Linked DNA regions of Homo sapiens: region 1 is linked to region 2. The links are contacts of gene promoters, found by promoter capture Hi-C in blood cells and fetal thymus (Javierre and others, 2016). All regions are on one chromosome and are shown on one strand. The core of a region is centred on a gene start or on the middle of the fragment in contact, and the rest is flanking DNA. Distances in the headings are between cores, read along the strand shown.

What was found. The method cuts DNA at HindIII sites, captures the fragments that hold promoters and counts their contacts. A CHiCAGO score of 5 or more calls a contact.
Region 1: a contact is called between a fragment that was not itself captured here and the fragment with the promoter of FANCC in region 2, in 1 of 17 cell types (total B cells). The highest score is 5.4, in total B cells.

The regions. Positions count from the first base shown.
Region 1 is chr9:97,410,103-97,417,141 of GRCh38, forward strand. TDRD7 (tudor domain containing 7) reads left to right here and starts at 1,994. Exons shown (of 17, transcript NM_014290.3): 1 at 1,994-2,136. RefSeq lists silencers at 1,681-2,030, 2,051-2,260, 2,345-2,639 and enhancers at 1,975-2,476, 2,477-2,976, 2,581-2,840. The HindIII fragment of the contact is 157 bases long and covers 4,092-4,248 here.
Region 2 is chr9:95,314,505-95,321,828 of GRCh38, forward strand. It overlaps FANCC (FA complementation group C), which reads right to left and starts at 3,205. Exons shown (of 15, transcript NM_000136.3): 1 at 3,022-3,205. RefSeq lists a silencer at 2,557-2,876. The HindIII fragment of the contact is 1,904 bases long and covers 1,861-3,764 here.

The DNA.
Region 1 (7,039 bases), core at 2,920-5,419, 2.1 Mb after region 2:
GGAAAGAACAGAAAGACATCTGAAATAGACTGAAATAGAGCAAAGGAGATGCAGAGAAATTCCAGAGAGAGACATTTAGGCAAACTTAGTCAGGGACCAGATCTAGGATATGAAAGAGAACAGTGTTCAAAGAAAAGCCCTGTTCAAAAACTCTGAACAATTCCCTACCGCCTTTGGGGAAACATCCAAGTGTCTGAGAGCTGGATATCAGGTTTTCCAGATTTACTTCCAATTTTTCTTTGTATTGCCTACTGCATCTTTTCACTGAATCAAAAGCTCTATAAGCACAGGCTTATCCATGAAAATTTGTTATTTAACAGCAGGTGTTCAATATATATTAGTTGATTGTCCATTCACCTTCTGACGGATGTTTGTATTCTTTCCATGTGGGGCTACGGCCAACACAACTGCCATGAGCACTCTTGTACAGGTTTTTGTGTGGACATCTGCTTTCATTTCTCCTGGGTAAATACCCAGGAGCAGAATTGCTGGGTTGCGTGGTAGGTTTGGTACATCCCTACAATACCATTCAGCAATAGAAAGACATGAACTATTGATACATGTAACAACATGGATGAACATAATTTGCTAAATAAAAGAAGCCAGGCAGCCCCCCAAAGGATAGTACATACGATTCCATACATAAAAGTTTTACATATAACTCTAGAAAAAGCAAAATAATCTATAGCAACAGAAAGCAGGTGAGCAGTTGAGGGGGCAAGTGACAGGGAGGGACAAGATATAAGAATTACAAAGGATCACAGTAAAACTTTTTTGGGTGATGGATATGTTCATGATTTTGATTGCAGTGATGGTCTCACAGTGATATATATATATCAAAACTTATCAAACTGTACATTTTAAACATTCAGTTTATTGTATGTCTTATACATGGCAGTCAAGCTGTAATAAAATACCGGTTGAATAAGCAGCAGGTTCTCAGTAAATGCATAATTTATCAAGCTGTACATTTTAAACGTTCAGTTTATTGTATGTCTTATACATGGCAGTCAAGCTGTAATAAAATACCGGTTGAATAAGCAGCAGGTTCTCAGTAAATGCATAATTTATCAAGCTGTACATTTTAAACGTTCAGTTTATTGTATGTCTTATACATGGCAGTCAAGCTGTAATAAAATACCGGTTGAATAAGCAGCAGGTTCTCAGTAAATGCATATCCAATGGTGCAGAGAAGTGTTCAATGTTGGCTGCAGGGATGCAAAGCAGGTGCCAATAAGTGTTGGTGGAATTAATGTGCAGAATAAATAAGTATTCACTTATTAGGTGTTCAATAACTTTAGAGTGAATGAATAAATTTGACAGATATTTATTGCTGATCGTGTGCTAGGCACTATCCTAGGCTCTGGGAATAGGTTAAGGAACCAAACAAAAATCCTTGTGCTCACAGAGCTTTAATTTTAGAAGGATAGCAGACAATAAAAGCATAAGTAAAATACATATAGTGTGCTAGATAGGTGCTAAGGAGAAATAAGGTTGAGAATGGGGATAGGGAAAGTCAAGGAAGGAGGTTGACATGTTAGAGACTGTGTCCACCGTCATTGAAAGGGTAATGCTTGAGAAAGGCCTGAAGGATATGGGCGGACAGAGTGTGTGTCTAGGGCAATAAAAAGTAACTGCTCCAGATGTTGAAGAAAATAATGTGCAGGAGTTGAACTGTTTGGAAGGAGGGTGAGCCCCATAGAAGGAGCCACCCTCGCCCCCTGCTGAGTCCCGGCTCGCTCGGCCCGCGCGTACCTGCGTTGTCCACCAGGAGGCGCTCCCGCACCCGCCCCGCAGGCGTCTTCCGCCGCCGGCCGGTGCGTGGGCACGCGCAGAAACCGCTAGGTGGCGACGGTTTCCCTTCCCACGCGCGGACGCCGGCGTGGGCCGACGCGGCCGGAGCGCCCGCGCGTGCGCAGAGCCGAGGCCAGGCTGCCCTCGAAGCGGGGCGGGGCGAAGCGGGGCGGGGCCGAGCAGGGCGGGGCGGGGGCTTGAGGTGATTCCCAAGCCGCGGGGCGGCTCCGGTGGTGCGGGGAAACCGAAAGTGGGCGGCGGCCGCGGCGGGGCCCCTGGCGGAGACGGCGGCAGGAGCTGGGCCCAGAGACGCGGGGACGGGCCGTGGGCCCCCGGAACGAGGTGAGTGCAGGTCCTGCGGGCTCCGGGCGCGACAGGTGCCGGGCGACGTCGGACGAGATTTCGGGCGGGCGCGGCGCACCTGGGTCACCGGTGGGACCGCGGCCAGGGCCGGGGGCTCCAACAGGCTCGGGGCCTTTTCCCTGCAGCCGCAGGGGATTGCCCCCGCCCCGACGCCTGGGAACCGGGCTGGGCGCCGGGGGAGTTGGAGTTCCAGAGCGTTGTGTTTTAAATCTCTGAAGGGACCCTGCTCCGGGCCGGGCGTTCACGCGGGAGTCGGACGGAGCCTCCTGCCGCCTCGGAAGCTCTGCGCCGTGGGGGAAATGCAGCAGCGGGGTGTGGACGCGGGCGGGAGATGCGGACCAGGAAGTGGTTCCCGCTACCGGCGCGACAGGCCGCAGCCGCCGCCCCCAGCGAGGGATGTCCGCGCTCCCCTATTTGAACCCAAGTATTTTACACCACGAACTTCTCTTGAAGGTCTCTATAATCTGGAGACGAGCCCCAGGCAGGCCGCTTAAGTAATGCAGGACACACATCCCCATTTCTCTCAAACGAGGAGCACCCAGTGGGTACAGAGCACCCAGCTGGGAGGGAAACATGGATCCGTGAGTAAGTTGTCTCTCAACTTTCAGTAGCATCCCCTCAGCAGGGTCAGACTCTCAGCTTCAGCTTGCTAGGAGGGAGCTTGGAGCCGGCATATCTTTCTGCTCCCATTCACTTGAGAGGTATATTTCCATTAATAGCTAAAGGTACCATTCTCAAATAATTTCTAAGAGCAGGGAAGGGAAACAACCACATTAGAACAAGTCCTGGCCCAGAAGAATTCTGATCACCGCCCATCCAAACCAAACCAAACCAAAAAACCACAGATCTAGTTCATTAACCCTCCTACCAACACCTCTCTGCTCTCCAATCGTGCCGGTGAAAAAAATGCAGAGAAATGTTCTCTCTAGAGAGATAGGCAACAGCTTAATAGCAGAAGTAAAACTTGGACCCAAATCCCTGTCTCGTCCTGGGCTGCCTTGATGTGTATGAATGTGTTGCATACTGCAAATAATGTGAACTTTGCAGACCTGGATTGAAATCTGGGCTTCTCATTTTACAAATTGTGTGATCTTGAACAAATTACATGCTTTCTCTTAGCCTGGTTTTCTATGTGTCAAATAGAGGTACCTGGCTTACTTTGCAAGGCTTTTCCAAGATAACCACTGTATATCCTTTGCCTCATAATAATTGCCAAGCAGTATTCACTCTCTTCCTCCCAACAAACGGTCCATGTTTTACATAATTGGATTTTAGTTTTTTGAGGGCAGGGACACAAAGATCTTTGTGTTTACTATATAATATAAATGGGCACATGGTGGATATTTTTGCATTTCCTCTCAGCTGACATTCATTGAGCATCAGTTACGTGCAAAGTACTGTTCTGGGTATAGGGAATTGCCCCTGGGGCCAGCTGGATTAGCACTCACATCTCCTGTGCCCCAATCCAGGGCCCTTTGGTGGCACACAGCCTCCGTCTTTGGTAGTTGCACGGTGAGACTGTGAGGCAGCAGTTGGCAGTGCCTTCAGATTTCAGTCTCTGTAGATTGAAAATGAAGTGTAATCCCCTGCTAATGCCCTTTTAAGTGTACAGGTTGAACATGGCTGAATGAACTATTGTATTGTGCATCAAGAGATTTTAAACTCCTTGCAGAACCCCTCTTTTAAGTTCTCTGTGCAATATAATCTAGCTGGATACTTAATGTGAATATAAAGAAAAAATATAATCCAACCCCGAGTGCCTAATTTGTGTTTGTCAAGTGCTGTTTTCAAGAATTGAGATTTGACATAGAGTGCTTTGCATCTGGACACTTTCACAGAAGTTCCTTGGTGAAATTTTATATTTACGTGAACTGTTGTTTCTTTGTGCCAAACCTGCTTTTTCCTCCCTCCACTCCCACCTCTGTACTTTTGAAAGCTTCATTCTTGTCATTATTTCCCTGTAAGCCAAATATGTTTACAGTTTTGTCTTTCAAACTAAAAGTAATTAATTTTGCAATTTTTAGTTGAAGACATGTATATATGCCAATCAGAACTTGATCAGTGCAAGCTACCCAGTGTGACTTCAAAGTAAGCTTGGCATTTTAGCCTGTGCAGCTTTGTCATGAGTAAGCAAACTCGGTTTTCATTACATATTTGGACCTTATTTCAGCCTTCAGTGAATCCAAGGAAAGTTGAGAATCATGGCTCTTGCCCACCTTTCTTATCTTCCTTGTGAAAAAAAGAGACCTGAAGTGACTTGTCACAGGTAATCAGTAGCGGAACTAGGATTAAGACACAAACTCCTTACTAAGCCACTTTATTATCTCAGGGTTTTTTCGTCTAGTATGTAGACTTATGGAAATCCCTTACTTACGTACATTCGTGGTATGCAGTTAAAATGCACGAATAATTTGGAACTTGAGATCACAAGAATAAAAAAGATAACTCCCTGAAAAAAACTCTTAAGGAAGTATACCATCATCTGAGGGTATTAATCATCTTTTTCCTTTAAAAACCGGTTGGTGAAGGAGTAATTGAAGTGGTAACAGACTATGATTAGAAAGAAAAGAGCATTTAAAAGTGTCGCAAGGTGAGAAATCATTTATTGGGTAAAGATCTTAGGAAAAAATTTTCCCTCTGAGGCTCAGTTTATTGATTTGTAAGATAAGGAGCTTGGGTTAGCCTAGACGATGCCTAAAATGTGTCAGCACAGACATTATGGGACTTTAAGTTCCCGCTGTTGCTAAAATAGTGTCTTCAAGGAGAAGGGCAGTTAGTTATTAGAAGTATATGCCCTAAAGAGATATCCAGATACTTCAAAATTGAACATCTAACTAAAAGAAGCTAAGAGAGATTACTTGGTGTTTTCAGTTTACCCTAATAATTCTTCTGATTTGTTTTAAGATTTAGTGCCACTCGACAACTTAAACTGATGACATGAAAAATGTAGTAAGGAAGATGAGCCAAATCATACAGTTGGAAATAGTTGAGCAAGAAGAAACTTAGAAAAGAGAAGGCATAGGATGGAAGCCAGACTAGCTCAGCTAAAGGCCTTTGACACCAGTAGTTAGAGGAAGCAGATAACATGCAAATGACTGAGCCAGGGAGGATCAATCAATGGTAGAAGGCGTTTATCTGGGATACACCAAAACCAGGTTCTTCAGAATAGGACTTCCTTGGGCCATTTTCAGGTATAGTAAAGAGAAAAGCTGTGAATTTACAAAATGCAGTTTTGAAGTAGAGTGAGAATTATTTTAGGCCACTTAAATTATTTAAATTTTGTTTCCCTAAAGATTGTCATCACTCCCCAACTCCCCACCCCACCTCATGTGCATTATTAGTGTCTTGGATAATTAAGATTAACTGGGTATAAGCGAAGAAAAAAAGGAAAGCACGAAAGCATAAAAAAGATAGTCTCAGCTACTCAGGAGGCTGAGGCGGGAGAATCACTTGAACCCGGCAGGCGGAGGTTGCAGTGAGCCAAGATTGCGCCACTGCACTCCAGTTGAAATTCCTATGATATACTTTCTTTTATGCTTCTAATGGATGATGTCTAAGATATTAAACTTTATTTTTATAGTTAGAACAAAGTATTCTTATATACCTTGAGAGTATAATTGCCATCTTCCGAAAGTTTCAAAAAAAAGTCATCATGAGCCACGTAACAAAACTCAGAGCATTTCCAAAGTGATATAGTTTAGAAAATAATGACGATTTTTTTTAAAGCTTACACTTTCTTTTTCGTTCACTGCCTGAAGTGATGTTGCTAATGTGGGAATTGAAATCAGACTGGCAAGTCGTGCATTTGAATACAATCACATTTAGCCTTCCAGGTTTTACTGCATTTAACTGCTTCTCACCAGCTTGGAGACCCACAGTCTTATACTCCAAGGGATTCCCCTTCCCTTCAAAAAGTTGTTTGCAAATAGAGAGTTATAGTCCTCCATGAAAGATAGCATACTTTAAAAAGGCAGGCAGGGGGAGGGAACTTAATTTACAGATTGCAACCATGTGGTCAAGCGTTGATTCTCAGTCTCCTCAAGTATGAGGCCATTTTTTGTAGCTTTAGAAAAATTTCGTGAAACCTCATACACTAGTAGTTGTGCTTGCAGTATCCATTGGTCAATTAAACATATAACTACCAAAAGCTGTTGTGAATTTAATATCAGTTTGTGTTTATGGATCCCAATAATATCTGCACACTCTGAAAAACAGGACTATAAGTACATGTGAGACATTTACTAATATTCAAGCCGTGCCTGCTGCTTGTCAGGATGTGTGGGCTCCTTGCAATCATGCTGCGGCCCTGACAGGGCCTAATCTGGCTCAGAGTGGACATGCTCAGAAATAATCTACTTGATGATTCTCAACCACAGTTTGGTGTTGCGATTGGCTGTCTCATTCAGTTTATAAGAATTGTTAACATTTGCAGATAATTTTTTAGTAACTTAAATTGGATTCAGAGTTATGCCTTTAATAGCTCACCTATGTTATGCTGTATTTTAGTGAGTAGGAGAGAAAAGGAGTGGTAGGTGGATGGAGAATTTCTTATTCATTCAACAAATATTTATTGAGCTCTCGGTGGGCTAGGCACTAGGGATTCAGCAATGAACAAAACAGACACAAATCCTTGCTTTCATGGAGCTTGCATTGAAGTTGGGGAGAAAGATAAAACCATTAAATGGAGAAGAATATTGGATGGTGATAAGTGCTAAGGAGAAAATCAGGGAAGCTGGCATCTCAGTTTTGATTTTGAATAGGGTGGCCAGAGAAGGCCTTACTGTGGAGGTGACAGTTGAGCACGTACTTTAGCTGAAGGAGGTAAGGCTGTGAGCCACATGTGCCCCTGGAGTCAATATGTCCCAGGTAGAGAGAATGGCAA
Region 2 (7,324 bases), core at 1,955-4,454:
AGCCGGGCGTGGTGAAGGGTGCCTGTAGTCCCAGCTACTCGGGAGGCTGAGGCAGAAGAATCGCTTGAACCCGGGAGGCGGAGATTGCAGTGAGCCGAGATCGTGCCACTGCACTCCAGTCTGGGCAAACAGAGCGAGACTCTGTCTCAAAAAAAAAACAAAAAACTTGCTTTCACTTTATCGATAAAAAAAATTTTAATGAAATTTTAAAAATAATTCAATTCACAATACCATCAAAAATAAAACTTCAAAATTAATTTACAAAAGGGCAAAATTTGTACACTGAAAATTACTAAATACTGCTAAGAGAAATTAAAGCGCTCAACAAATGGAAAGAGATTCCATGTTCATGATGAGATGGCAATTCTCCCCCAAATAGATATGCAAAATTAAATGCAATTCCTACAAAGTCTATCACAGCACGGTTTTCTGAAAAAAAATAACAAACTGATACTAAAATTTATATGGAAATGTAAGGAACCCTGAACCGCCAAAACAATTTTGAAAATGAAGAAAAACATTGGATAACTTACACTACTTAATTTCAAAACTTACTATAAAGCTGCCATAATCAAGATAATGTAATGCTGACATAAAAGGCATGCAGGTCTCTTACCCTCAGTCCCGTATTAAACTTGAGTTAGAAGATGCCAATCTCAAAATGGAGGTAAAACCATTGCCTGCTAGCCCCCAGTCCAACTCTGGTGGCCAATCTGAATTGTTACCAATTTTATTTTTCCAGACACGGTCTCAGTCTGCTGCCCAGTGTGGAGTGCAGTGGCGCAATCACAGTTCACTGTGGCCTCGACCTCCTGAACTCAGGTGATCCTCCACCTCAGCCTCCCGAGTAACTGGGACCACAGCCCCGCATCACTATGGCCGGCTAATTTCTTAACTTTTTGTAGAGACAGGGCTCTCTCTGTTGCCCACGCTGGACTCGAACTCCTGGGATCAAGTGATCCTTCCGCCTCCGCTTCCCAAAGTGCTGGGATTACAGGCATAAGCCACCATGCTCTGCCTGTTATCTGAATTGCCTTTCCTTCTCCACTTCTGCATTTTTATTAAAACATTGCAAAACTTCCAAGGTGCTTCTCCTGTATGTATTTTTTCACATTAAGTCAATCACTCAAGATCCACAAACAAGACAGAGAATGCACATATCCCAGCCTAAAATAAAACTTTTAAAAATCATTTGGTGCTCATTTCCAGCCCGATTTGAGGCCCTAACACTACCAACTTGGAACTACCACTCATGTGAGTTTCCTCTGGCTCTCTCCATGGCCCAGATAATCAATCCAACTTTCTACTGGCCAGGCTGGCCTCCCTGTAGCTGGTTCTCATAAACACGAAATTTGTATAATTGTTATTGGAACTACCTGCTGAAATATGGAACTGGTTAAAAGTACCATTTGTTTTAAAATGTACATGCACAGTTGCACATACATGCAGCAACACATCTTCCACAACCAGCCAATCAATCAAGTTAATGCTTTTTATTAGAGGACAAAACAAAAAATACCAATATAGAGCCTGCTTTTCTTTTCTGATGCCTTGGTAAACGTTTTTGGAGAAATCAAGAGAAAATATGACCGAATAAAGCAAAAATAAATTCGAATGTATAATATACAAAGTATAATTAGTCCAGTTCTCAAGAAGCAGGCTCTATTACTGGGAGTAGTGGGTTGGTGAAAAAGATCTCTGATATATCTAGGAAAACAAATTCTTTTTCGATGCAGCCTTTCTTGTATATGAATAATGTATATGAGTGCTTATTTCCAGGTGACTCTGGTACAGCACATAACATTGAAACATCAATTCAAGTTTAATGTATAAAGTCGCAATGAACATGTTTTCCATCTAAGCTTAGGTAATGAATGATCTCAACACATGGTATGAATTCTACTGTTTGTAACAACCTTTCAGGGGAGTAAGGAGAAAACGATCTGTCTGAGGGCATATCACTGACAGTGAGTGACAGCCACAAAGAGCTGAAGTTGGGTGGCCCAAAAGTGCTCTGCTCATTTGATAAATGCTAAGTCAAATCACATCACAGTTTAGATGCATTAAATGGGGCACAAGTTAGAATAAAATCAGATGCCCGGGAGTTTTCCAAGTTTCAGATTAGAACAAAAGTCCAGGCACATACAGGACTTTGCTAGAAAACTCCTTGGTCTCTTCCCTTAAGATTCTGGTACCCAATTTCCCATGTTATAAAACTCCAAGTCTTTTCCCCCATTCGGTGCGCTGGACACATAAGATCATAGAGGGTTCGTAGTTGTAAACGCACCCACCTAAAAAATTAAAAAGAGCAAACCAACAAACAGCACCTGAAAAATCTCTCACGGGCTTTGAAGATATGGCCTGGCGTCCACAAAAAGAATGGAGGGAAGACACTGGCCTCTGCGAACCCGCCTCCCTCCGGGAATAAAAGGCGGAGGGCGGGAGGGGTAACAGCCGCGCCCCGGGCTCCTCTAATTGGACCTCGCCCCTCCTGGCGCCCCGGCGAATGGGGTTTGGGGGCAGGGGTGTGAGGGACGGGGAGGACGAGGCCAGCTGTAGAGGGCGACCGGCTCAAAGGGGCGAGCTTTTCACGGCTCCCACGAGTCCGAGGCAGAGAAATTCACCTTTGCTCCTCTCCTTTGAAGAAGACATAGCTGCCTGCGCTCAATGAACAAAAAGAACCAAAACGCCAACACCCGGCTCCCGCCTCTCCGGGGGCTCCCTTCCGCGCGACCCCAGCGCCGGCTCCCGCCCCCGCTTTCCCCGCCCTGGCCCCGCCCCGCGGGCTGGCACCGCCCGCCACCTTCCGCCTCCCGCCTCCCGCCTCCCGCCTCAGCCTTAGCCACAGCCCTGCGCCGGCGGGAACCCCTCTCGCCCACCGCAAGGCGCGCCTGGCCCACCCGCTCTCGCGAGCCTTCCCTCTTGCCCCTCGCCTCCTCCTCCCGCTCTCGCCGCTGACGTGTCGGCCAGACCCCCGAGGGAAGCCTCCGCCCTCGCTGCGTTCTGCGGCCTGCCGCTTACCGGGTGGTCCTCGCGGGAGCTGCTTCAGCAGTTTGGGCAGTGGCGGAAAGGAAGCCACCGCCCGGGATCTGTGGCTTGAAAATTTGGCTTTGCCTCGTATTGGCTTTTTGAGTTTTTTTGGAATTTTCCCGCGGTCGCCCGGCAGTGGAGCCGCGCGCGCGCACACGTGTCAGCAGTGCATTCTGGGGCCTGGCTAGCGGCCCCGCGCGCTCCCGCGGCGTCGCGGGAAAATTCCGACGAATCTCGGGTCCGTGGGGCGGGGCGGGCGCGGCCAGGGCTCTGGCGGAAGTGGGCCCGGCTGGGGCGGGTTCTAGGCGAGCGGAGTCGGTACTGCTCCAGTGTTCCCGGTTTCGCGCGGAAGCCCCGGCGGGAGCAGGGTTGCAGCAGCGCCCGCGGAGAAGGGGCGCTGGCTTCTTCCATATTCTGTTCAAAATGTAGGGGAGGTAAAATGGAAATTAGTTCTTTTGAAGAAAAGTTGAGGCTTTGTCAACGGGGTAAAACCTCTAAAATAAGATTTTCTAACTGCGTTCTAAACAATAGCAACAAAAAAGGCATCTTCAGTTAATGATTTCCCCTACCGTACATTAGTTCCATACAGTGTTTGGTCGGGGTTCAAATCAGTTCAACGCTGTACATAAACCACCCAAACAAATATTAATAAAATTTTCTCCAAACTCCCATTTATGACAATGGCATTAGCTTGTCTTGGTGAATTTTTTTTTCTTCTAGGATCTGACGACTTAAGCTTTAAAATGTCTTAAATCAATGCCTCACAACCATAAATCATAATCATAAAACTACAGCTTAGGTCGGGCGCTGTGTCTCAGGCCTGTAATCCCAGCACTTTGGAAGGCCAAGGCGGGCGGATCACGAGGTCAGAAGATCGAGACCATTCTGGCCAACATGGTGAAACGCCGTCTCTACTAAAAATACAAAACGTTTAACCGGGCGCGGTGGCGGGCGCCTGTAATCTCAGCTACTCTGGAGGCTGAGGCAGAATAGCTTGAACCAGGGAGTCAGAGGTTGCAGTGAGCCGAGATCGCGCCACTGCACTCCAGCCTGGCGACAGAGGGAGACTCCGTCTCAAAAAAAAAAAAAAAAAAGCTACAACTTCACATATACGTTCAAAAACACACTACAGGCCGGGCGCGGTGGCTCACACCTCTAATCCCAGCACTTTGGGAAGCTGAGGCGGGTGGATCACCTGAGGTCAAGAGTTTGAGACCAGCCTGGCCAACATGGCAAAAACCCGTCTCTACTAAAAATACAAAAATTAGTGTGTACTCCCGGCTACTTAGGAGGCTGAGGCAGGAGAATTGCTTGAACCCAGGAGGCGAAGGTTGCAGTAAGCCAAGATCGCACTACTGCACTCCAGCCTGGGCAACAGAGCGAGACTCTGTCTCAACAAAAAACACCACAAAGCTGTGTGTGCTTGTAATAAAAATAGCTCTCAAGTATTTAAACATGTCCAACTATTCCTATGGTGAAGAAATACCCGTTTTACCAATGAATACTTTCAATTCAGAGACTAATTTGCAGAGGTTATACATTTATAAGTGATACAATAAGTATATAGCATAGCAATAGCAACAATCTGTTTAAGAATTAAAGGTAGTTAAAAAAAGGAACCGATCCAGAGGTTGAGACAAAACTGGCAGAATCTGCAACTACATTAAGGAATTCGGTGTTTACATCCATTCTCGAAACTATTCCATGCCAGTTAAGGAAGTCGGTGCTTTTTGATTGTTTTTTAATTTTAGATTCGGGGGTACATGTGCTTGCTTGTTACATAGGTATATTGTGTAATGGTGGGGATTGGGCTTCTGGTGTACCTGTCCCCCAAACATTGAACATTGTACCCAATAGCTAATTTTTCAGCCCTCACCCCCTTCCCACCCTCTCCCTTTTTGGAGTCCCCAGTGTCTTGTTATTCCCATTCTTATGTACATGTATACCTATTGTTTAGCTCCCGCTTATGAGAACATGCAATATTTGATTTTCTGTTTCTGAGTTTGTTCACTTAGGATAATGTCCTCCAGCTCCATCCATGTTGCTGCAAAGGACATGATTTCGTTCTGTTTTACAGCAGAGAGGTCGATGTGTTTTTGATGTGTGCATAGTGTGACATGGATAAATCAAAAGCAAGTCCTGGGTAGGGAAATACATGCCTGAGGGGCACTCATCGTGGCACCTTGACCATGAGAAAGTCACCTCTGTGGTAACAAATCGAGAGTGAGTTGACGTTTAAGTTCTGCATTTATCAGCAAAGAAAGCAATTAAAGTATGTATTTCTTGAGAGAAATTATCTATTTTGGTACCCACATCCTTTTACATATTCGCTGAAAAATCATTTTTAGTGTTTGTTAATGATTGATGTCTTGCCATATCCCAGTTTTCTGTCTTTTTAGTTCAGTGGTTAATAAAGAATTGCTAGGCTCATCCAACTTTGCAGTATATGAAATGACACCATGTTTAGGCCTAAATTAGACCTAAATAGGAAGCATATATAGCATAAAGATCCAAACTTATATTTATAGGGATTCATTTTGCCTGGCATTCATATACATGGAACTATCTTAATAATATTTTAAGCAATAGTGAGATGTTCACTTTGTAAAATGCCCAGAAAGTTTCCAGAGAAACAGATATTTCAATACAAACCCTCTTTTTAATTGAATCATAAAATTGATTATGGGTGATCCAATTTTTGTTTGTGTGTGGGAGTGTGTGTGTGTGTGTGTGTGGTTTTGATTTGTTTGTTTTGAGACTGCATCTCACTCTCACCCAGGCTGAAGTGCAGTGGTGCAAACACAGCTCACTGCAGCCTCGACCTCTGCGCTTAAGCAATCCAACCACCTCAGTGGCACCAAAATGCTGGAATTACAGGCGTGGGCCACCGGGCCCAGGTGTGTGTTACTCTGGAACACAGTTTTGGTTGTAGTATAGAACCCAATCACAAATAATGTCGCAAAATGAAAAATGGCCTATTTAGGTGAAAATTATTACATCGTTTACATTAAATCTTTACATTCTAGAGGAAAACAAGTCAATTGGCTGAGTGCTGCAAAGTTCCTGACATTATCAAACCTTCCTTCAAAGTTCAACAAATAGAATCAACTGTCTTAGAATCCACGTTGTGGAAACCATTGTACCAAGACTCCTACTTCCAGAATTAGTTCAGACACCACCCACCTGGTTTCCAGTCCTTATTTGGCACCCCAACATTTAACATTATCTTTTCTTTTTTTTTTTTTTTTTTTTGAGACAGAGTCTCACTCAGTCGCCCAGGCTGGAGTGCAGTAGCATGATCTCAGCTCAGCTCACTGCAACCTTTGCCTCACCGGTTCAAGCAATTCTCATGCTTCAGCCTCATGAGTAGCTGGGATTACAGGCACATGCCATCACGCCCTTAACACTATCTTGTCCATGGCTTTGATATTTGCCTCTTGTACCTCAGTTGTGAATAATGCGTGTTGAAGTTCCAGGCACTGGGCTAACTCCTTGGCCTGGGTTATTCCCTTTGATTCTCACAGTGATCTTATGTAATCCACAGTGGTAATATTCCACTTTCACAGATACAGAAACTCATGCACAGAGCCATCTCTTCTAGTGGAGGGTGGAACCTGGCTTCAACTCCATTTACAGTGGCCTCTTACTTATAATGTTCTTGCTCCTGGCCCAGGCTGGTGACTTGAAAATAGGGTGAGGTGATCCCAGAGGCTTCTGCACTCTAATCACCACATTACTTTCCCATTAAAACATTCCAACTGAGGAAATGTAAGTTGAACTAGAGAAGAGAACAATGAGAATATTTTTTGTGCCAGAAACACTTTAAGAAACGGAGCAGATAATAGTGAAGGGCTTTGATCTGCCACCGTGAAGGGGAAAAGGCCAAGAAAGGGATGGCTGCAGGAGATGGAAATTCATGGAAAAAGGGAAATGTATTATAAATGCTGCATGGAAGCTGCCACTTCTACCCTGCCCCCGATATGCTCACTCCCTAGGCTCTGCTGAAAGAATGCACCTAGGAGGACATGTTTGTACTAGAGCCTCCATTACTAGCCACAGCTAATTGAACCAGAGATGGTAGCCTGACCCTAGCTGAACCAATCAAACTATTGCTGGGGAATTTGGAATTGCAACACTGAGAGACTGTAACATCTCTATACAACAGGAGCTAAAGCCCTCATGCCAACTGGAGTTACTTGGGGAAGAAAAATATGTAAGTAGCAAAGAAAGTTGGCTGGCAGAGAAAAGCAAAATGACGTTGAAAGGCTGTTATTTATTCTGTGAGAGAGAGGGG